2 separate regions of the Homo sapiens genome follow, and region 2 is linked to region 1. Evidence: promoter capture Hi-C in human tissues and cell types (Jung and others, 2019). All regions are on one chromosome and are shown on one strand. Each heading gives the region's core, a stretch centred on a gene start or on the middle of the fragment in contact. The rest is flanking DNA. Distances are from core to core; before and after follow the strand shown.

Evidence for each region. The method cuts DNA at HindIII sites, captures the fragments that hold promoters and counts their contacts. A contact is called where the count stands out against the background at its distance.
Region 2: a fragment that was not itself captured here is called in contact with the fragment with the promoter of C3orf49 in region 1 in 1 of the 25 tissues and cell types used here (mesendoderm cells).

What each region holds. Positions count from the first base shown.
Region 1 is chr3:63,814,727-63,822,582 of GRCh38, forward strand. It overlaps C3orf49 (chromosome 3 open reading frame 49), which reads left to right and starts at 4,573. Exons shown (of 7, transcript NM_001355236.2): 1 at 4,573-4,870. The coding sequence starts at 4,746. RefSeq lists a silencer at 3,920-4,039. The HindIII fragment of the contact is 1,936 bases long and covers 3,348-5,283 here.
Region 2 is chr3:63,763,654-63,771,509 of GRCh38, forward strand. It overlaps the pseudogene CDHR18P. Among named protein-coding and RNA genes, the nearest start is that of C3orf49, 52 kb to the right of the region's middle. The HindIII fragment of the contact is 5,986 bases long and covers 851-6,836 here.

The DNA.
Region 1 (7,856 bases), core at 3,323-5,822:
TCTCCTTAGTTCCACTGTTCCCCCTTTAGTTAAACCCTTGGACTACAGCAACAACTTAACACCCCAACTGAGTATCTCTTCTCTACTCACCCCCTATAGTAGGCTGTTCTTGCATTACTATAAAGAAATACCCAAGACTGGGTAATTTACTAAAAAAAAGGTTTAATTGACTCATGGTTCTGCAGGCTGTACAGGAAGCATGGCACCAGCATCTGTTTTTTGGGAGGCCTCTGGAAGCTCACAATCCTGGCTGAAGGCGAAGTGGGAGCTTGCACATCACTACGTGAAAGCAGGGGCAAGAGAGAGAGCAGGGAGTGCCACGCACTTTTAAACAACCAGATCTTGCAAGAACTCACTTGCTATCACGAGGACAGTAACAGGGGATGCCACAAAACCATGGGTGAGAAACTGCCCCATGATCCAATCACTTCCCACCAGGCCCCACCTTCAACACTGGCAATTACATTTCAATATGAGATTTGGGCAGGGACACATATCCAAACTGTATCATCCCCTATATCCCAGTTCATTTCAGGGACACATATCCAAACTGTATCTCCCCCATATCCCAATTCATTTCAGTATTTAACTTCTTAAATATTGCCTGGATCTGCACACTTCTGGTACTCCTCACCCCCATCTGTTGCCGGCCTGGACCAAGTGCCTACCTAATGACTTTTCAACACTCACTTTTTCCTCTCCAATGTATTCTCCAAGCTGCACACAGCAACATTTTAAAAACGTATGCATAACTATGCCTTCCCCATGTCACCTATGTTCCCACCACATTGCTCTTCTTCCTGCCCTCAGACATGCCTGGTTTGCACCTGCATGTGAACCTTTGCTCATGTCGTTTTCTGTCTTTGAAATACCTCTCCCAGATCTCAGCATAGTTTGTCTCTTTTTCAACATTAAATGTCTCACTTCAAACACCACCTCCTTAAGAGATCTTTCTTGATGATTTTGGAGGAGTGCCCACTCCCAGTCACTTTCTACCACGTTTTTCTACTTTTTATTTGTTTGTTTTTTTCTTTTCTTTTCTTTCTTTTTTTTTTTTTTTTGACAGAGTCTTGCTCTGTCGCCAGGCTGGAGTGCAGTGGCCTGATCTCAGCTCACTGCATCCTCTGCCTCCTGGGTTCAAGCGAGGAGGCGTGAAGCCGGGAGGTTCTCCTCCCTCGTCCTCCTGAGTAGCTGGGATACAGGCGTGTGCCACCATGCCCAGCTAATTTTTCTATTTTTAGTAGAGACGGGGTTTCACCGTGTTGGCCAGGATGGTCTCGATCTCTTGACCTCGTGATCTGCCTGCCTCGGCCTCTCAAAGTGCCGGGATTACAGGCATGAGCCACCATGCCTGGCCTGTTTTTCTTTTTATTTATTTATTTTTAATTCTTTTTTCTTTGTTGATTTTGTTTTTTTTTTTCTATTTGTCTCATAGCATACTTTGTCAGTACCTGAAACAATTTTCTATTGGTTAACATATTGGTGTCTGTGTCCTCCACTAGAATTGTAATTCCTGGGCAAGGATTTTAGTCATTTTCTTCACAACTGAATTCCATTTCCCTGAATAAATATATGAACAAGTTCCCTAAAAACCCTCAGTAAGGCTGTAATCCCAGCACTTTGGGAGGCTGAGGCAGGTGGATCACCTGAGCTCAGGAGTTCCAGACCAGCCTGAGCAACACGGTGAAACCTCGTCTCTACTAAAAATACAAAAAATTAGCTGGGCGTGGTGGCACGTGCCTGTAACCCCAGCTACTCAGGAGGCACAAGAATCGCTTGAACCCAGAAGGTAGAGGTTGCAGTGAGCGTGGTGCCACTGCACTCCAGCCTGGGTGACAGAGTAAGATGCTGTTTAAACAACAACAACAACAACAAACAAACCAAAAAAACCTCAACAACTCCCCATTGCTCTGAAGATCAAGACCAAAACCTTTAATTTGATCTATAGGACTCAAGAGATTTGGTCCTCCCTCCAGCTTATCACACACATCTACCTCTTTGCTCCAGCCACCCTAGCTTTCTTCCACATTTTCTTTTCTTTTCTTTTTTTTTTTTTTTTTTTGTGAGACAGAATCTTGCTCTGTCGCCCAGGCTGGAGTGCAGTGGCGCGATCTCGGCTCACTGCAAGCTCTGCCTCCCGTGTTCACGCCATTCTCCTGCCTCAACCTCCTGAGTAGCTGGGACTACAGGCACCCGTTACCACGCCCGGCTAATTTTTTTGTATTTTTAGTAGAGATGGGGGTTTCACCACGTTAGGCAGGATGTTCTCGATCTCCTGCTCTCGTGATCCACCCACCTCGGCCTCCCAAAGTGCTGGGATTACAGGCGTGAGCCATCGCACCTGACCGCTTTCTTCCACATTTTCAAAGACACTGGGCTTCTTCCACCTCCGGGCTTTGGCACATGCTGTTTCATCTGCCTGGGTCACACAAATTTTCACACGATTGGCTCTTTTCCCCGTTCAGCATTCAGGACCAATGACCTCATTGGACAGGCTTTCCTAACGCTCCATCTAAAGTCACTCCTCATCCTCAGTCACTCTATCCCATCATCCTCTTTTACTTTTTTCATAACATTTACTACCAGCTGAAATTAAAATGTTCATTTCCTTGTTACCTGCATCTCCCACAGCATATTAAGTTATATGAGTTCAGAGATTTTGTGTATGTTGTTCACTGCAGTATCCCTGGTGTCTAGGGTGGTGTCTAGGGTGGTGCCTGGGAACCACTAGGCATTCAAATATTTGTTAAATAACTGAATGACTCAAAGAAGCTTGGGAGGTAGCAGTTATTACTCCTGTTTTACGAACGAGAAAATGAAGGTCCAAAGAGGTTTTCGTTACCCGCCCAAGGACCCATAAGCTTGGAAGGGGTAGATCTAGAATGTAAATCCAGACACAGCTCAAAATTGATGTCTCTCTATACTCTAACTCTTTCCCCACCCCCTTCCCACTCCTTCTAGTTCTGTCATCTGCTTCAGGACTCCTTTGGGAACCTACAAGTTTTGTCACAGATGCCACAGCAGCAAGTGTTTCAGCCTATTACATACACACATACATGCAGACATGCACACACAGAGACATGTACATAGACACCCATGCACAAATAAAAAACAGCTGTCTTTCCTAGCATAAAATTCATCTCATTCATCTAGATAATTGATGAAATACAACAGAATTAAGGCAGGAGTGCCAATAATTGCATGAAAAATATTGCCCTGTTGCTAAAGAAAATATTCATGTATTCATTTATTCAAGCACCTATTATTTATTGTGCTCTGAGGATGCCAACAGATGAGGAAAAACAGACCAGGGAGGAGCATATGTCCATTTGGCCAAGGCATATTAGATATGCTCTACTTCAGCGTTTCTCAAATAAGGGACAGAGGAACATCTGCACCCACTCTCCTAGAATATGGATTCCTGGGTCTCATTCCCTGCTGAAGCGGAATTTCTATTTCACTTGAATTTTGCCATAAAACTATGGCTTGGGCACTATGAGTTGTCCCACTTTAGGGATGAGAAAACAAGCATGGGTGGGTTAAAATGAATTGGCCAAGGTCACATAGCTAAGCTAGAAATGAGAACTCATGCATAATTCCCAAATCCACTCTCTTAGCCCCTTAACATTATACACTTCATTCTAGACCATTTTAAAGCTCTTTTCCCCAGTACTGAAACATACAAGACCCTCACTACTCCAAGTGCAGTCTGGCATCATCAGCGTCACCTGCGGGTTTGTTAGGAGTGCAAATTCTTGGATCCCAGCCCAGATGTACTGTATCGAAATCTGCATCTTAAAAAGACCTCCAGGAAGTTTGTGTGCACTTGAAAGCTTGAGAAGTATGCTCCAGATTATTGATTAATGCAAACACAGAAAGCAGAGTAATTCTTGTAACTCCCAGAACCTTTCTAGAGGAGTTTTTCTTGTTAAGCATCTAGTTATTTGACTGAACAACTCAAACCGCGAGAGGGTAACAGGAATAAATCCTAGTGTCTGCTGCCACCTTGTGGTGAGAAGTTCCATCACAGGCAGAATTCGCTCTTCACCACGAAATAAATGGGGCAATGTTGGAAGGGAGGGGTGGATCAGGTCCTCAATTTAGCAATGTACTTTGAGAGACCACTGCAAAATTCCAAGATGTAATGAAAACCACCCTTGGGGTACATTTTGAGATGTCCAAACAACAACTGGCCTTGTCATATGTGTCCCACAGGACACAGAGAACATTCACCAGCTGTAACTGAGAGATCTAACAGAAGCTCAACTTGTGTTAATCAGCGTATCGTTGGTATTCCTATAGGTCCCTACCACTTCAGAGTTCAAATACGCACTTCTGAATGTGGTGGTCAATTAGTGTGTGGGTGTTTTTTGTTGTTGTTGTTGTTGTTTGATTTTTTTTTTCTATCCAAATGCCAGCATTGAGGCAATCAGATCATCATTTCTGTATTTGCCTTGTTCAAGAATCTGTGAAGTGTTCCACAAAGGTCCATGGAATTTCACACAGCTCTGTCAAATACATCACTGGTGACCTCTGTGAAGTTGTAAACAGGGCCAGTCCCACAAATAATGTCTCTAACACCTGGAAGGGAATAAGGGAAAGACTCTAAAAATTTCCTACATATTTTATTCCGAATAGCCCACACCTTGACAGTACATTCAGTCACTGGATGATTTTGTATTGAAGTCTGTAAGTTCAAGAACTAAAACAATCCAAAACGGCTACTACAGGTGAAGTTGAGAGCAATGGCCCAACCTCAGCTGTATCTACCAGAACCCTTTAAGATTGCCTACAGAAAAGTTGGACAGTGCCGAAGATTCCAGCAACTCAAGAAGAAAAATGGCTCATTCAAAAGGAAGGGGATAGAAAGGTAACAGAGATTCATTTCCTTTTCTGTCAAATGAGAGTCTTTGGGTTTGGCATAGTGGCATGTCCTTTTAAGCATTGCATTTAGGAATGAGGACTCTGGATGGATTGGCGGGGAGGGTACTGCGTTGGATCAAGAAATCTAGTGTGACAATGTAAGCTTCATTTTATGATCAGAAACATCTTAATTGTAACAGGGAAAACCTTTCCTTTCCACTCGAAATTAAGTTTCAATGTGGCATAGGAGACTAAAATAAGTTCTGATCCTATGTTGATATTTCAGCATCAGAATTTTGGACATCTCACATCCCGTGAAAATACTATTATTTTGAAAAGTCATTAGTGCATTCTTCGAAATAGGTCCACGATCAGTGCTTTCTTTCTCCTATCCCAGCAATTTGGGCTGCTGAAATATGTACTAATCACATTTCACTATGGACACATTGTTTAATGTAACGTTAAAACTGCCTTAGACTTGCTATTTTTTTGCCAATGACAAAACCATATAGACAGGTATGAAACATCCAAAATATAATATATTTTAATTTGGAAAGTCAGTGTGGTGATTTATTTTCCAATTTCTTTGGGCTTCTCTCTTACCAGGTCCATGGGCTATAGTTCAGACATGTAGAAGTGAGGTGTTTTAATGAGTCCTGGAAGCATCAAAGACCAAGCTTGTGAACTTCCATGGACAAAATAAAATACTGCAGAGATTTCCACTTTCAATGAAAAGTAGGCACTCCGGGGGAAGCAATACAACCAAATAAATTCAGTACCAACACAAAAATATTTAAAAACTTAAGAAGGGGAGGGTTCTGCTCATATCAGAAATTGCAGCAGTGTGTTCCTAGGCTCTGGAGCTAAATCACCTTTGTTAATTATGTTCTAGATAGATTGGGGATGAGAGTGGGGAGGATGGGAATGGGAAACACCTTCTAGAGATTCTGAGACCACTTAGAACTGGGCTTTTAACATGGGTGGTCTTCAAAATTCCTGAATCTCCTGAAACTGTATTTGCATTGTTCTGTGTCACAGTATGTGTATGTGTGTACATGTTTATAGTAGTAGAATCACTTAAAAATTAAATTATTATTAAAGGAGTCTCAGAGGGGTCTACGGGAGATTAATCCTACCCATAAGTTATCTCTGGGTGAATTAGGAAATGGTGCTCCCTCCTCAGGACATTTTACTGCCATCTGCCAGAAAATCATTATAATAACTATACACAAGTCTAAGGATGAAATTGAATAGCACCCCCTAGAAGTCATATATGTACATTTTGCAGAACCCTGCCCTTGGTCCCAGAAGGGAGGCTGCTAGCTTCTCCCTTATTTTGCCCTCTAGTGTGGGCTCCCTGCTTGCCTTTTAAGTTAATGGATTTTCCCCATAAGTTAATGGCTTTTCCCCACTGTTCTGATCCACATGGTAATAAAAAGTATCATTTATGGAATGCTTTTTAAGGTTCCAAACACATGAATTATTTCCTTTTATTTTCATAATTCTGAAAAGATTATGCCCATTTTCAAATGAGAAGACCAAAGCTTATAGAGGTTACATGACATGCCCAAGGTCACAGAGTTAGGAATTGTCCTGAGTTAAACCAATACCATTCAACTCCAGTGTCTAGGCTGTCACTGAACCACTTCCCATATATAATTACAGAAAAAGGCTGAATGATTTGGGTTCTGTTTAGAACAGTGTTTTCCTGGAGAGTAGTACATATGCTACTGATGGTACATGAGATATTTTAGGTAATATATGAAGAACATTGTTAATGGTTATAAATTTGTTTTAATCCATATTAGAAATATATGTTATATATTTAATACAACGTAATAGCATAATATAAAACCTGGGATTTCACCCAGAGAAATGAAAACTTATGTTCATACAAAACCTATAGATAAATGTTTATAGCAGCTTTATTCATAATAGCCCCAAACTGGAAACAACCCAAGTATCCTTCAATCAGTGAATAGTTAAACAAAGTGTGGTACATTCACATCATGGACTATTACTCAGCAATAAAAAGATATGAACAATTAATACACAAAATCTGGATGAATGCCCAAAGAATTATGCTGAGTGAAAAAAAGCATATCTCAAAAAATTACATGATGTATATTTCCATTTACATAACATTCTTGAAAGGACGAGAATTACGCAAACAGAAGACAGATTCGTAGATGCCGGTTTAAGAAAGGGGGGACCAGTGGATAGTGGATGTGGCTATAAAACATGAGGGATCCTGGTGTTACTGGAAATGTTCTGTATTCTGACTGTTTCAGTGTCAATATGCTGGTTGTGAAAATATAGTTTTGCAAGATGTCATCATTTGGGGAAACTAGGTAAAGAGCACACAGAATCTCCCTGTATTTCTTTCTTTTTTTTTTGTTTTTTTGAGACAGAGTCTCGCTCTGTCGCCCAGGCTGGATTGCAGTGGCGCGATCTCGGCTCACTGCAAGCTCTGCCTCCCGGGTTCACAACATTCTCCTGCCTCAGCCTCCCAAGTAGCTGGGACTACAGGCGCCCGCCACCACGCCTAACTAATGTTTTGTGTTTTTAGTAGAGACAGGGTTTCACCGTGTTAGCCAGGATGGTCTCGATCTCCTGACCTCGTGATCCGCCTGCTTCGGCCTCCCAAAGTGCTGGGATTACAGGCGTAAGCCACCGCGCCTGGCCCCCTCCCTGTATTTCTTACAATTGCATGTGAAACTATAATGATCTCAACATTAAAATTTTAATTTAAAAAACACCGAAATTTCATGGATATTATTACTTTGGGTGAAGCTAACAAAAAATAGTTAATTGAGGAAGAATATTAGGTAATAATTGTATCACCGTACAGGTGATACTCTAGCACAGTGGTGAACAACACAGACCTCAGGATCAGATAATCTGGACATAAATTATTTAATCTCTCCAAGCTTTAATTTCTTCATGTGTGAAGTAGAGATGAGAATATAAAGATTAAATTATGTTATACACAT
Region 2 (7,856 bases), core at 2,594-5,093, 52 kb before region 1:
ATTATATTCCAGAACCAGGATATAATAGGTGTGTATTTATTTCACAGAGACGTTAAGAACTTCTCCAAAGCTGCACAGTGAGAAAAACAAAGAAATGAAATCCAAGTACAGCCCAGATACAGTGGTTCATGCCTGTAATCCCAGCACTTTGGGAGGTGGAGGCAGGAGGATTGATTGAACCCAGGAGTTCAAGAGCAGCCTGGCAAACATGGCAAAACTTAATCTCTACAAAAAATACAAAAATTAGCTGGGCATGATGGTGTGCACCTGTAGTCCTAGCTACTTGGGAGGCTGAGATGGGATGATTGCTTGAACCTAAGAGGGTTAGGCTGCAGTGAAATGTGATTGCACCACTGCACCCCAGCCTAGGCAACAGAGTGAGAAGAAAGAAAGAAGGAAGGAAGGAAGGAAGGAAGGAAGGAAGGAAGGAAGGAAGGAAGGAAGGAAAAAGAAAGAAGGAAAGAAAGAAAAGAAAGAGAGAGAGAGAGAAAGAAATAAGAGGAGAAGGAGAAGGAGAAGAAGGAGAAGGAGGAGGAGGAGAAGAAGAAGGAGAAGAAGAAGAAGAAGAAGAAGAAGAAGAAGAAGAAGAAGAAGAAGAAGAAGAAGAAGAAGAAGAAGAAGAACTAGAAGACAAAGGAGAAGGAGAAGAAGAAGAAAAAGAAGAAGGAGGAGGAGGTGGAGGAAAGGAAGGAAGGAAGGAGAGAGGGAGGAAGGAGAGAGACAGGGAGGGAGGAGAGAGAGAGGGAGGAAGGAGAGAGAGAGGGAGGAAGGAGAGAGAGAGGGAGGAAGGAGAGAGAGAGGGAGGAAGGAGAGAGAGAGGAAGGAGAGAGAGAGGGAGGAAGGAAGGAAAAAGGAAAAAGGAAAGAGGGAAAGAAAGAAAGAAAAATAAGAAAGAAAGGAAGGAAGAAAGAAAGAAAAGAAGAAAGAAAGGAAAAGAGAGAAAGAAAGAAATTCAAATGTGTGGGCTTTTGATTTTCCAGTCTTTCCTCAGAACATTTGTCTAACGTTTGATTTCCTAGTCTCTCAACATTTGCAGTTGTCTGGCAAGGAAATAAGCTGGCTTGAAGTAGTGTGGGTTCCACCCAGTGTTATGCTGGCAAATGTTTAAAAACCAACTCTCTGAAAAAAAACTGGTGTGTGTGTGTGCGCGCGCACATGCGTGCGTGTGCATGCACACACATATTCACATAAATATATGTTTGTTATAAATTTTACTGATATAAAAGATAGGGAATGTAAAATTTACAGTTAACGATGAGATATAAAATACTCTGTATTGTAAATTTCCATATAGACAATTGATTTTCATAGAATGCTTTCACTGATTCACAAACTGTCCTACACATTGCCACACTATGATTGCAAATGACAAATGAGTAGTGCCAACATGAATGTTAGTTGATATTTTCCTTTGTATTAAAGAGTAAGGTGAAAGTGAAGCCGTGGCAGAACTTCACTAGCTCATCAATGATGGGAATGGCTTATTTGCTGAATTGGAAAACAGTTTTTGATTGCTAGAAGACTATTTCCACAATTTTTGTGCACTCACAACAATAATCTCAGACCTTTTTTTTTTTATACTTTAAGTTTTAGGGTACATGTGCACAATGTGCAGGTTAGTTACATATGTATACATGTGCCATGCTGGTGTGCTGCACCCATTAACTCGTCATTTAGCATTAGGTATATCTCCTAATGCTATCCCTCCCCCCTCCCCCCACCCCACAACAGTCCCCAGAGTGTGATGTTCCCCTTCCTCTGTCCGTGTGTTCTCATTGTTCAATTCCCATCTATGAGTGAGAACATGTGATGTTTGGTTTTTTTGTCCTTGCAATAGTTTACTGAGAATGATGATTTCCAATTTCATCCATGTCCCTACAAAGGACATGAACTCATCATTTTTTATGGCTGCATAGTATTCCATGGTGTATATGTGCCACATTTTCTTAATCCAGTCAGACTTTTACATTTAATCTGTATTATTAACATTTTCTCTATCAATTTCTTAAGACAAGATAATTTTTTTTAAAAACTATGAATCAAGTTTTAATATGTAATGTTTGTTGATTTCTATGGTATAAATGCTCTCACCATTTTCAATTTTAAATTTTCAATAATTATTGCTAACTTGGAAAGAGAAATGCAGTAGCATGCCATTCTATCTATGGAATTTCACCATTCTATTTATGGAATTTCACCATTCAGTCCCAACAGATGTGAATAACCTCAAGGCAAATATAATAGTAAAATGTAGTAACATAATTAAGAAGTACTGAGTTTTTAGCATTTACTAACTTTTAACATAACTTTTATAACTAAGTTTATTAATTTATTTTTAAGAATATTATTAATAATCAGGTTATCAAATTCCTGCAGATTTAACAATTGGATCTTGCAAGCCAGTATGATTCAACTCTAGCACACAACTGGTTCCATCCATCCCTTGAAGTATTCAAGTCAAACCTGAAAGAGATGCTGAAGAAAGGATGTGTTCCTCTCTTAGATGACAGAAGATACAAGTAGGACCTCTGCTGTCTCTTCTAAATTTAACGTTCCTTGATCTATACTAACAAATGTGTCCTACTTAATATGTAATAAATGGCTGAAAAAGAACCCTGACTAAGATCTTGACTCTGGACCTAAAATCATGACCCCAGACATTCACAGGATTGAATTGCGTGGACAATGAGCACATCGTTTCTACCTTCTTTGCATTTAGATCTAATTTAGAGGCAAGGGGGAAGATAAATGGAATAAAATTAGTATTGTGTAATTTTTTATTACAAAAATCCTACGTCATCAAATGTTAAGGAAGTCTTCGGGGAGCCATCAAAATGATACACTGAAGGTGTTACCAACGAAAAGTGCCTTGTTCTTGAGTGTCTGGGATTCCATAATGCTCTCTTATTTGCTTGCATTTTGTAAATGTATATGCTTTTTTCCACTGGCCATTCATTTGAAATGTGGTAGGTGTTTCCTTCTGCATGTTTCAACACCATAGACTTGGGGAATCTCTTACCTCCCAACGTTTCCGGAACAGAGAATGAATAGTGTGCAGCTTTAAATACAGGGCTGAAGTCACTGGCAGGAGCAACCTTCACAATGAAGGTCACAGTTGCTGTGAAATTGAACACTGAATAAATGCTTTGTTGTTGTAGTTTTATTCCACAAACAAGCTCCCCGTCCCCCCAGGAACAGGCTTAGCAAGGAATTTTGAAACTGCAGTGGGATTCTCTGTGCTCCCAAGCAACCCCTGCTCCCAGACTGCATTCTCAAGGAACCAAAATAAATTTTGGTGCTAGCCAAAGCAATTTAGTGAAAAATACATAATGTATTGCATGGTATATTTTGTTTTGTATAGTAGAAATATGCATGTATTTATATACATCATTTAAAATATACAATTATATATTTCACACAAGATAGTTTATTGCATTTTTCATGGGTACAGTCTCCTCCATTAGAGAGTTTGTTGGCGTGTCATTCTCAACCCAGCATGTGACATTCTCAATTCTGCTTTTAATGTATATCCTAGAAAGTGGAAGGGAAAGAGACTCAGAAAATCACGTTCAAGGCTTAGCCTTGAACACGTACAGCTGTTCCTCAGTATACACGGGGACTGGTTCCAAGGCCCTGGCATATAACAAAACATGCACATGCTTAAGTCCTGCAGTCAGCTCTGCAGAACCTGTGAATACAAAAGGTTGCCACTCTAATACATGCAGGTTTCTCATACTGAATACTGTATTTTGGATCTGCATTTGGTTGAAAAAAATCTGTATATAAATGGACCTTCACAGTTCAAACCCATGTTATTCATGGTTCACCTGTACCCTGAGGCCTTGAACTAGCTTAATTTCTCCAAGGATCAGTTTCCTCATCAAAGAAAAAAAAAGGAATAACATCAGTTTCAATCTCCTACATCACAGTGTGGGTATGAAGACAAAATAAGATCGTGCCCAAGAAGGTATATTTAAACTATAAAAGGTTAAGTAAAAAGGCAGCTATTACATTTTATTCACCTCAGCCAAATGTTTGTATATTGTGTGTTACCAAAAATGAACTCTGTATTTCAGACAAACAAGCTTAAACTATCATTACAGAGTTGTCAAAAAGAAGGAACTTGATGTCTCAACATAAAAGCAAGAAACTTGCAAACACGGAAAAATTTTAATAAAGGTAAAATAATAATTAACATTTACTGTAAAAGGTACTGATTTGCCATTGGTATTATTGTCCCCATTTCACAGGCAAGAAAACTGAGATTCACAGAGTTCAGTTCTTAGACAAAGATCACAAAACTCATAAGTCACCAGATGGGTATTAAACCAAGCTATGTTCACCAGCATCTCCCAAAATATCTTCTTTGAGATGCTAATGTGTCAAAAGTAGAATCCTAATGAAACAGAGGTAAAAGGTTTCTTTTTGGCAAGACTTCTTCAGATCTCCAATATATCATTATATATGATAAATCTCCAGGTATGCCTTGCTCCCCAAATTTATTTGACCAAAGAATTCTTCTTTAGTGGATTATCTTGTGGAATTCATGTTCTGAAGAGTGCTGGTATTGCCTCTACTGAAAATCCATGCCACGTGTGTCAAATAAGAAAATTTAATCTAGGATTCGTAGGATTCATAGAACGTTTACTTCAGAGAATCTGTGACATTCATTGAATTTTGGTATGTGTTGTTATGTGCATTTTTCAAGGGATAGGATCCACAGCTCTTATCAGAATCTCAAAAGTGTTCATGCCCCACAAGAAAGATTAAGAAGCACTATTCTACAAAGACAGGTGATTTACGTTAAAGCCTCTATATTTCCTACAATGAACGTCACTCATGTGTTGCAAGAGCAGGTGCCATTTACAGCTCTGCCATACAATGATTTTTATTGCATCCATAAACACTCAAAACTATACTAATTAGCTGGCTTGTAAAAATATATTGAACTACTTGTGCACTATTACAAGCATCCTTTATTCACATCCTTTGAATGTGTTGGGTGTGAAGGGACTAGAAAGAATGGGGATTTATTACTGTGAGAAATGTCTTTCCTCTTCCGTATCAGGGAAAGGCTCAAATCTGGTGAGAGGGAAAGACTCTTTTTTGATTAGAAAATCAATATGAGTAGCTGCAAGAAAGTGTATCCATCCTGAAAGGTCAATTGGGCTACAATATAGGCTTCTTGCATCAGAACACAAGTTAGGAACAGAGAAACTACAACAAGAACACTTCTGGGCATAGTGTCATGCTTAAGTCCCTGTCCCTTATACATCATCTTTCCACATGGTTGGGTCATTTAAGTATTCAAATCACCTTTGTAGACTTAGCCTCATTAGAACTCTTGTATCCGTGAGTCAAGAGTGATTTAATGAGCCCTAGATGTGCTGATTACAGTTCAGCCTAAGTTCCCTTTGGTTGCAAACGTATAGATATATACCATCATTCCACTCTTATCCATCCATGACAGACAAAGCACTCTTCCTCATTGCTCCCAGATGCAATCTCAAAATCCTTCTCAATGACCCAGGAAATTACCACCAATGATTCAGACTTCTCACAAGAGAAGAAACTCAAATGCCACCCCTATTCTAGGCTCTCCTTTACCAGGAACTGACATTCTACTACTAAACTTATGTTTGCAACCCAAACACCCACATTGTCTTGAATATCTTTGATGCCAACCAACTGCTCGATTACTTACTACCATATTTTCCAGATACAATAGATGCTTGGCATTAATAACAAATGTATCCAGAATTTTAAGAATCTCTACTTTCACAAATACCTCTATAGCCAACAAATTAACTCTTAAAATGGTAATACATAGGTGAATATGTAAATGACCCTTTAGGGCACTTGTATGTTCTGATGTGTAGTACAATAAGCAAACAGAAGCAGGTGTCAGGTGTTTAACTAAGCTGGGCCACTCTCTAAGTACTCTGCTCTAGATCTATAGCTCACAATTTAAATATGTACCAAAGAGTGGTTTACAATTAGCAAAACTATGACTATTAAATCCACAAATGCCAAGAATTTTATGACCATAGAATCTGGGTGGACTTAATCTCACTGTACCAAAGACTCATTCTAACACAGGCTGACCCAAAATGGTGGGATGGTTATGAAAAGACCAAATGGCAGAGAGGGATAACCATGCCCTGCACCTCCATGAAGGTGTTCCCGGGCTGCGGAACTTGGCAAGTAACTCATGATTTGCATTAATATGGCTCTATATATGTCATATAAAATAATTCAAATAAAATACTTTTAAAACATCCTATTACCTATATGTTCAGACTACATGTTGCCCAACATATGGTTCTTTTCAAGTAAGAAGTGTCTGGCATTACTAGCATAAAGGTATTCAAGTATAAAGCATAAGAGTTAGTTCTACACATCCCTTGCCCCTTCTACCTCCTAGGATCTCTAGCTGGAGTGGTATTTAAGAATTGTGTATTCATTAAGGCATTGTTAAGAGGCAAAAGAGACTTCCCAGATCTAATGAAAACTTCCAACATGAGTCTACTTAATTCTCCTCTTCCTCCTTTGCCCAACTTCAAAAAACTGCCTCAAACACGATGGATCTTTACATTTTAAAATCTAAATTGAAGAGTCTAGAGTATAGACACTTATTGCTCTTTGAAAAGTTTATCCAGATTACCTGTATGGGAAGGAAGTAGGTCATAAAATACTAAAATCATTATTTCATAGGTATGTCCAGCTGCAATTATCTCTGGGTCTTCATAGTCCAACTCTTTAGTAACCTTATAAAATGAGATTTCTTTGAACAAAAATGACCAAATTTTTTAAACGTACATGTTTTCTGTTTTTGTTTTTGTTTTTGTTTTTGAGATGGGGGTCTCACTATGTTGCTCAGGCTATTCTCAAACTCCTGGGCTAAACAATCCTCCCACCTCAGTCTCCCAAGAAGCTGGGATTACAGACATGTGCCACTGCACACCCAGCTAAATGTATGTGTTTCAAGTAATACATCATTCTGCAAAAGGCAAGCATATCTCCATTTTCATTTCACAGGGATGGTCTCAGAATATACCCAAGACTGACACAGACTGACACACAAAAGCAGGCAGTTTGGTGAAACAAAGGCACATCTTAGATTTCCTTCCAGTGTAGATTACTGTTGGACAAAGCATTGTGGCAAAGTAGAATAAAAAACGGGTTGTATCCTGTCTTTACTGCATGTAAATGGTGTGACCTTAGGCAATTTTTTTTTTTATTATTATACTTTAAGTTTTAGGGTACATGTGCACAATGTGCAGGTTAGTTACATATATATACATGTGCCATGCTGGTGTGCTGCACCCATTAACTCGTCATTTAGCATTAGGTATATCTCCTAATGCTATCCCTCCCCGCTCCCCCCACCCCACAACAGTCCCCAGAGTGTGATGTTCCCCTTCCTATGTCCATGTGTCCTCATTGTTCAATTCCCATCTATGACTGAGAACATGCGGTGTTTGGTTTTTTGTCCTTGCAATAGTTTACTGAGAATGATGATTTCCAATTTCATCCATGTCCCTACAAAGGACATGAACTCATCATTTTTTATGGCTGCATAGTATTCCATGGTGTATATGTGCCACATTTTCTTAATCCAGTCTATCATTGTTGGACATTTGGGTTGGTTCCAAGTCTTTGCTATTGTGAATAGTGCCGCAATAAACATATGTGTGCATGTGTCTTTATAGCAGCATGATTTATAGTCCTTTGGGTATATACCCAGTAATGGGATGGCTGGGTCAAACGGTATTTCTAGTACTAGATCCCTGAGGAATCGCCACACTGACTTCCACAATGGTTGAACTAGTTTACAGTCCCACCAACAGTGTAAA